3 separate regions of the Homo sapiens genome follow, and regions 1 and 2 are each linked to region 3. Evidence: promoter capture Hi-C in 16 types of primary human blood cells and fetal thymus (Javierre and others, 2016). All regions are on one chromosome and are shown on one strand. The core of a region is centred on a gene start or on the middle of the fragment in contact, and the rest is flanking DNA. Distances in the headings are between cores, read along the strand shown. Region 1 overlaps LOC124900165. Region 2 holds the start of LOC107986254 (a long non-coding RNA gene). Region 3 holds the start of TMEM128 (transmembrane protein 128).

Region 1 (2,700 bases), core at 178-2,677, 320 kb before region 3:
GCAGATTGAAGGATATTCTATCAAATGATTGGCCAGTCATCTTCAAAAGAGTCAAGGTCACGAAAATCACAGAAAGACTGAGAAAACATTTCAGACTGAAGGAGACTAAAGGAGCTTGATATCTAAAGGCAATGTGTGATTCCACCCTGGCTCCTTTTGTTATAAAGAACATTATTGGGACAAAGGATGAAACCTGAATGTGGTCTGAGGTTCAAATGGTAAAAATGCATGTTGTGAACGTCGTGATTTTGATGGTCATTCTCTCTGTTTGTTGGAAATGCATAGTAAAGTGTCCAGGGGTGACAGGCATCATGCTGGCAGCTTACTTTCAGATGACTCAGGGACAAAAATTATTTGTCCCATACTTGTAACTTTTTTTGTAAATTTGAGATGGTGTTAAATATATAGGATGTATAAAGCTTAGATCATATTACTCCACTGCTCAGATTACGATTTGAGATGAGATTTGGGTGGGGACACAGAGCCAAATCATATCGCCATGGAACCTGAAGGTGTCCAAGGAGGGGGACGCCTAGAGGTTGGATACCTTTTCTGGTACGTTTTATATCTCATGTTCCTATAACCCACCCCCTACCCCATGAGAAAGTCACAATTCAACCAGCACTGACACGTTCCCTCCTTCTAGTAGAGTTAGGCAGGTGATTGAGACATGGATATGGTTACACTGTAACCTTAGTGCTTCCCTATCACCTTTGGGATGAATATAGAGTCCTGACCATGGTCCCTGAGCCCTAGATGGCCTGGCCCACCTCCTGTCTCAGCCCCTGTGCCTGGCTGTGTTTCAGCTACATTGGCCTGCTGGAGGTTTCTGGAACAGGTCCAGTGCTCTCCTGCCTCTGGGCCTTTGCACTTGCTCTTCTCTTTGCTTGGAGTGTGAACCCTCAAGATTTCTACATGGTGCTCCCTGTGCAAATGTCCCCCATCAGAGAGGTCTTGGAAAATAGCTCCTCCTCCTCCTGGTCACCTGCATCCCTCCACCTGTGTTAACTTTCTTCATCATGCTTTCACTGCTTGATATTTTAAGATGGTAATATGGTTTGGCTGTGTCCCCATCCAAATCTCATCTTGAATTCCTACATGTTGTGGGAGGGACACAGTAGGAGGTAATTGAATCATGGGGGCAGGTCTTTCCTGTGCTGGTCTTGCGATAGTGAATACGTCTCGTGAGATCTGATGGTTTTAAAAATGGGAGTTTCCCTGCACAAGCTCTCTCTTTGCCTGCTGCCATCCATGTAAGACGTGACTTGCTCCTCCTTGCCTTCCACCATGATTGTGAAGCCTCTCCAGCCATGTGAACCTGTAAGTCCATTAAACCTTTCTTCCTTTTGTAAACTGCCCAGTCTCAGGTATGTCTTTATCAGCAGCATGAAAACAGACAAATACAGATAGGTTTCCCTGTGTGTTGTTTGTTTCTTCACTAGAAAGTCCACTCTCTGTGGGCAGGAACTCTGTGTTGCTTCTCTCTACTCCCAATGCCTAGAAGAGTTCCAGCACTGTGGGGATGGGTCAGTGATTATTCCTGAGTAAGGAGTGACAGGCCCCTGGCGAGGGCCTTCCCTCATCACCTTGCAGCAAGGTGGGCCTACCTACGTTCTCATTTTGAAGATGAGGAAGTTGAGACTCAGAGAAGTGAAGTGATTCACCCAAGGACACACAGACAATACCCAGAGGAAATAGGATTTGAACTATCAATGAAAAAAAAAAAAAACACACACACACACACACACACACAGCGCAAAACACTTGTGAAAGGTGGCAAGACAGGTTTTATTCAGACTCCTGCTTTGGGGGAGATTCCAGGTCAGACAGAACTCAGCCCCAATTAAAGGGGACTGAGGCTTCTGAAGGGAGAACAGAGAGAGAACAAAAAGGGATGCTGGGGAAGTGAAGAAGGGGGAACAAAAAGGGCCTGGGGTTTATGTGGAAATGGAAATTACAGAAGGGGTCACTAGAGAATTCCTGAAAACAATTTGGTGCAAGCTGGGTTGGGACAATGCACATTTTGTGGTTTGGTAGCATTGCATTTTCTTGAGTAAAGACTTAGTGCAAGGCAGGGGTGGGGCCACCTTTAGAGACACAGCCTAGAGCAGGCGGAGCCAGCCTGAAATGTGGTCAAGTCTCAAGCATGGTGCCTAAGGGAGCGATCTGTGCCTCCTGAGAGCTCACTGTTCACAGGCCCAAGCCTTCAAACTCTAGAGCAAGGCACAGGGAGCGGGATTTTGCAAATTATTTTTCAAAGGAAGTCTCAGGGGCAAAGGAGAAGCCCATTGTCTTCTCCTTTGTATCATTTGTATCATTGTCTTCTCCATTGTATACATTTCTTTTGTGTCTTGTCCTCTCACAGTGTCCATCAGAAGGCCCCTGCTGAGTAGTTGGCAGGGTGGCTGCACATAATGGAAAGCACATAAGCTTGAAGCCAGACAGATGGGAGTTCTAACCCCAGCCCTGCCACTTATTCCCAGGTGACACTGAGTAAGTGACTTAACTTTCCTCAGCCTGAGTTTCCTAATCTCAATCACGTTACCCACCTGGCACCTTGTTGGAAGGTTTATATAAACCAAAATGTGTACATGCTAAGCACAGTATGTGGCCATAGGCAGTTCTCAGTAAGGGGGATGATAAATCTATCATGGGCTGGGTTTTGACACTGTTCACCCGCGCCTAGCAACTAGAGATTCC
Region 2 (2,843 bases), core at 195-2,694, 280 kb before region 3:
ATATATTATTATATATAATTAATATATGCTTATATTATTATGTTAGCTTAAAAAAATAACTACCCAAACCAATTACAATTAAAACTATGTATGCAAACCCAAAAAACTCTAGGCATGGAAATGACTGGAAGGGAACTCACCAAAATGTTAACCATGGCTTTTTCTGAGTGATGGGACTTGGGTGATTTATTTTTCTGCTTCTATCATCCAGAATTTCTTTAATGAGCACATTTACTTTTGAAATGAAAAGCAAAACAGAACAAGTAAAACTCCTGGCAGATGAGTTTTTATTTGCTGTGGTAGGAAATGGAGAATTAATAGCTTTTGATTAGAAAAATGTTATGAGCAAGCAATATCTAATTCTATATTAAATGTGCAGTGGAGGGGTGGGGGCTATTTAAAGGAAGTCTGTGGTAAAATCTTTTGTAAAGGGAGTAATTTTCCTGTAACTCAGCTGGATTTCCAATCCAGACTTTCTTAATCTATATGAGAAAATCATCCACAAATGTTGCATTGATGTCTTAGTTTCTGGTTGTTATTCTAAAGCATAATAAATGATAATAATGGCTACCACTTGTTGAGCACCTACTGTACCTGGCCCTGTGGTAAAAGCTTTATAATTTATTTGACTATCCTTTCAAGTTAGGCTCCTTTATTCATGAAGAAACCGAGGTTCAGAAGGGTAAGCTATCTCCCAAGATGACGTCCCTGGTGCTGTGAGATGAGTAGTCCTGGCACGTGTGTGCTGTGCTTCTCCGGTTGCCTGCTGCCTCCCCAGCTCTTGGGCATGCACAGGTGTCCTGTGGCAAGTGTGTCCCAGGCTGGGAACTGTGCTCCACTTGGCATTCCACAGACCACGCCTCTGGGGATTTGCTCTTTAGTATGTTATCACATCATCTGCTGTCTTTAGGAGCATATTTTGGTGCATACATTATATATTTGAAAGTGCTTGACTAACTTTTGGGGAAATATGGCTGCTTCCAAACCAACCTTTTTCTTTTAATCAACAATTACCTTGTGACCGTGCATTTCTTTTCTTTCTTTTTTTTGAGACGGAGTCTCGCCCAGGCTGGAGTGCAGTGGCGCGATCTTGATTCACTGCAAGCTCCGCCTCCCTGGTTCACTCCATTCTCGTGCCTCAGCCTCCTGAGCAGCTGGGACTACAGGCACCAGCCACCATTCCCGGCTAATTTGTGTATTTTTAGTAGAGACAGGGTTTCACCGTGTTAGCCAGGATAGTCTCGATCTCCTGACCTCGTGATCCGCCCGTCTCAGCCTCCGAAAGTGCTGGGATTACAGGTGTGAGCCACCATACCTGGCCAACCATGCGTTTCTTAAAGATAAGTGTTGTGGTTTGCTTTTGGGGAAAAGAGAAAAGGATTTGTGGTTTTAGTTAGTAAAATCATTGAGAGGGAAGGAGACCCAATTTATGGATTATAGACATTTGAAAAAAAATTGTAATTCCCTTTTCTGTTGTTGGGATACCAGTTTTTGATTTTATTTGTTCATTAAATGGTCAGTTCCGTGGAGATCTCTGGAGCTGAGATGGCTTTTTAGAATTGCCCAATTGAGGCAAAGGGCCAGGGCTTTTTAACCACTGCATTGGCCAGCCATTGTCTGTGGGCTTCTCCCAGGGAAGGGCCCTAGTGTTGGGTGAGGCACCTTCCTGCTGCTTGAGACACACTCGGCTGTGAGCCAGCAGCAGGCAGTTCTCCTAGTACCTGGGGGCCTCAATCCGAAAGATGCAGTTTAGCCACACAACCTGTATTAGTTCATTTTTTGCATTGCCATAAAGGAATACCTGGAGCTGGGTAATTTATAACGAAAAGAGGTTAATTTTGGCTTATGATTCTGCAGACTGTACGAGAAGCATGGCATCGGCATCTGCTTTTGTGAAGCCTCAGGAAGCTCACAATCATGGCAGGAGGTGAAGGGGGAGCAAGAGTGTCACATGGTGAGAGAGAACAAGAAGAGAGAAGGGGGAGGTCCCAGACTCTTTTAAACAAGCAGATCTTGTGTGAACTGAGCAAGAATTCACTTATCACCAAGGGGACAGCGCTAAGCCATTCATGAGGGATCAACCCTCATGATCCAACACCTCCCAGCAGGCCCCCCCTCCAATATTGGGGATCACATCAAGAGGCTGATCTTTATGGGCTGCATAGTGGGGTTTCCTTGCCCCCTGGCTTCTGATAGGGGTCAACTAATGGGAGGCTCCAGCAGGAGATGGGAAGGCTGGAAAAGAGGAGTTGGCTTGGGAACTGGGTAGAAGCTTTGCATCCACAGCCCATGACTCAGGTTAGGTGTCTGCCCACCAGCTCTAGAATTTTTCCGCTGTGTAAGTCTAGCATCCTGGGGGTTAGGATGATTTAGCCAGTAGGCTAGTACCAGCCAGCAATGGACAAGGCAGCATTGCAGCCTCACTCAGGGTGACCCTGAAAGACAGTGGCTAAGGGATGTCTTCCCCATGCCCAGAACTTGGGCCAAATCATCACTGCCTTTTAATTTAAGGTAGTTTTTAATATATATATATATGTGTGTGTGTGTGTGTATATATATATAAAGACATATATATATAAAATTATATATATATAAAAACATATATATATATAAAATTATATATATATAATTTTTTTCTCTATCTTTCTTCCTTAGGCTCAGCATTACAGTGGGAAAAGTCAAGTATTTTAGGCTCACACAGATTTTTCTCTCAGTGACGTGGCAGTTCATACTTTCCCTCCAAATATGACCTGGTAAATGACTCTGTGGCATGTTGACTGCAAATCTGAACTGAAATGGAATCTGTAACCCATTATCAGATCCTGAATCAAGCTGCCTTGTCC
Region 3 (2,753 bases), core at 185-2,684:
ACCATTCCCGGCTAACTTTTGTATTTTTAGTAGAGACGGGGTTTCGCCATGTTGGCCAGGCTGGTCTCAAACGCCTGACCTTGTGATCCGCCCGCCTCGGCCTCGCAAAGTGTTGGGATTACAGGCGTGAGCCACCGCGCGCGGCTGGCACTCTTTTCTTGAGTATTTCTTATTACATTCCTTTTACAAACACCCCAACACATCGAAGATATTAAACAGTGCCTACTAATTCAAATTTTACTTCCTATGTAGCTGGCTCTCCACCCCTGTATTCAACTCACCTGAAACCACTCTCCCTGCTCTCCCACACTGCAGCAGAATAAACTGCCCTTTATATGTACAGTGTTTCTATTATGCCCCATGTACAGTGTTTTTATTATGGCACTGTATTGAAGCTGCTTCCTCTACTAGATTCTTCTGTCCTCACCATTTTATCACATGCAGCTGCTCAGAAAATGTTGGCTGCATTGATGAAATGCTTTCATACATTTACAAATAGAGTTTTCTTGTAATATACCTCTGTGGTTTTCTTTGGACAAGGAGCTCCTCACGTGCAAGGCCATGTCTTACTCATCTTTATCTCCACTGCTAGCATGGTGCCTAACAGCTCCTACCAAATAGTAGATGCTCAGTAAACGTTTGCGTGGCTAAGCCCACCATTTCTCAGCACATGACACGCTGGGAAACGGCTGGGAGAGTAATACGCGGGATTATTGACGAAGAAAAAGTTGTGAACTCGTAACACACAGTTTGTGGGCGTGAGCAGTGTGGAAAACCGCAGTTTGCTGGGAAAGCAATTTAGTTCCCTCGGTTCAGGCTGGGAGGATTTTTCACAAGTGGCGAGGAGGAGGCTCACATGAACCACATACAGGTACTTCTCACTGAAACGCACAACAAATCTAGAGCCAAGTGTAATAACGAAACGGGCCCCAAGAAGTTTATTTAATGCCCAGGGCCCCCAAGTGGTCACTGCCAGGCTCTAGCATCCTGTCCAGCAGGCCTTTCTCCTCCTTTCAAGTCTTGCTGGACGACTCCTGAAAAGCAAAAGTAGGAAAAAAACTGGGGGCTGAGAGTGGAAGGCTGGACAGAGGGTATGTCTCCTGCTCTGGCACCCGGAAGCCTGCGAGGGCTTCGGAAGCGCAGCGTCTCACGGTCGCGCATCCCGGCCCTGGACGCATCCAGCGGCAGCGGTAATCCTGGTCCTCCTGGGCTTCCGTAGGTCGGAATAAACTTGGGAACTCTTCCACCGGCAAAGCTCAGTGTTTTAAAATTCAAATCACACTTGCCGACATGAGAGCGGAACCTTTGAGGCCGACTCCACCCTAGCTGCTCGCTAACTAAACAGCGAAGAGAACACAGTCTCCAATCCAAACGCCAGGAGGTCCAGACCCGGAGCGGACGCCGGAAGCGCTGTGTCTGACGTCACTTCCGTCGCATTTCGGGGCGGTACCAAGATGGACTCCTCGCGGGCCCGGCAGCAGCTCCGGCGGCGATTCCTCCTCCTGCCGGACGCCGAGGCCCAGCTGGACCGCGAGGGTGACGCCGGGCCGGGTGAGGCGCGCACCAAGCCGCCCCGAGGTTCTCAGAGGCGAGGCGTCGGAAAACGGCCGGCCTCCGGCAGCCCTGGCCCAGTCTGGAAGGACTGAGTTTCGGCTTTGCAAGTCGAATATTTAATGTCAGGGAAGATCCTTAGAATCGCGGAGTGCTGTGCATCGTCATTTCAGCTGCGCTTCAGAATTCTCTGGAGAGCTGATTTGACACCTATTTGGAAATAGCGATTAAAATTAAAAATACCCACCAGTTTTAAGTCTTAAGGATTTACCAGAAACATGCGTGTACCGCAGTGTACAATGATGTGCGCAGTGTTTCACTTCAGGATTGCTTGTAATAGCGAATTACTGGAAATATCTGCCTTGCCCGTCAGCAGAAAGCTGTTTAAGTAAATTTGGGTATATGTATACCTGACACATCAGGTCGACTCGTATGTACCAATGGGGATGATTTTCAAAGGGAAGTGTGGAACACTATGGTATGCCGCCATTTGGGTACAAAACAGGTAACTTGTGATGTATGTTCACCTGTGAATGCATAGAATATGGAAGAATTCAGTAGAAATTGTAAGTGGTGGTTGCTTCTGGGGATTAGATCTGAGGTTAAGGATGGGAGACAGATACTTCATTTTGGATATTTTTTATCTCATATGTTTTAAAACCACGTCCATTTATTACCTTTTAAAATTAAAAACACGAATAACCTCATGCCCAGGCATGATGATGTATACATTTTGAGGATATCCCAGAATATTACGAACATGCTTCCCAGGGTTTCCGATGGTCATCTAAAGGCCCAAAACCTCAGATGTGGACCATTGATTCTCACGTGAACCTAGAGGGCATGTCAGAATCCCCGGAAAACTTAATAGAAATCATCCATCTGACCCAACCCCCATCCACCCATTCTTTCAGATTGCGTTCCAGACAGGAAAAATGTCTTGTCCATCACCTGTCTAGACAGTGCTGTGCTGGAACTAGAGCTCTGGTGTGCCGTTTCCACTTTTGAGCTGTGTTTAAAGTAACTAAAATATTTAGTTATAGGCTGGGCAGGGTAGCTCACGCCTGTAATCCCAGCACTTTGAGAGGCTGAGGCGGGCTGATCACGAGGTCAGGAGTTCGAGACCAACCTGGCCAAATAGAGCAGCCTGGCCAAGATGGTGAAACCCCGTCTCTACTAAAAATACAAAAATTAGCCCGGCG

The links. The method cuts DNA at HindIII sites, captures the fragments that hold promoters and counts their contacts. A CHiCAGO score of 5 or more calls a contact.
Region 1: a fragment that was not itself captured here is called in contact with the fragment with the promoter of TMEM128 in region 3 in 1 of 17 cell types (total CD8 T cells); the score reaches 5.2 in total CD8 T cells.
Region 2: a fragment that was not itself captured here is called in contact with the fragment with the promoter of TMEM128 in region 3 in 2 of 17 cell types (total CD8 T cells and naive CD8 T cells); the score reaches 5.6 in total CD8 T cells.

What each region holds. Positions count from the first base shown.
Region 1 is chr4:4,568,612-4,571,311 of GRCh38, reverse strand. All of the region lies in intron 2 of LOC124900165, which reads right to left. The region is part of intron 2 of STX18-AS1 (STX18 antisense RNA 1 (head to head)); the gene reads right to left. It overlaps LINC03091 (long intergenic non-protein coding RNA 3091), which reads left to right. Exons shown (of 5, transcript NR_199719.1): 3 at 2,366-2,493. Among named protein-coding and RNA genes, the nearest start is that of LINC03091, 5.9 kb to the left of the region's middle. The HindIII fragment of the contact is 2,011 bases long and covers 422-2,432 here.
Region 2 is chr4:4,527,560-4,530,402 of GRCh38, reverse strand. The region is part of intron 1 of STX18 (syntaxin 18); the gene reads left to right. It overlaps LOC107986254 (a long non-coding RNA gene), which reads left to right and starts at 1,260. Exons shown (of 2, transcript XR_001741564.2): 1 at 1,260-1,954; 2 at 2,656-2,843. The HindIII fragment of the contact is 1,660 bases long and covers 615-2,274 here.
Region 3 is chr4:4,246,904-4,249,656 of GRCh38, reverse strand. It overlaps TMEM128 (transmembrane protein 128), which reads left to right and starts at 1,434. Exons shown (of 5, transcript NM_001297551.2): 1 at 1,434-1,551. The coding sequence starts at 1,455. RefSeq lists enhancers at 1,054-1,163, 1,466-2,092. The HindIII fragment of the contact is 7,732 bases long and covers 1-2,753 here.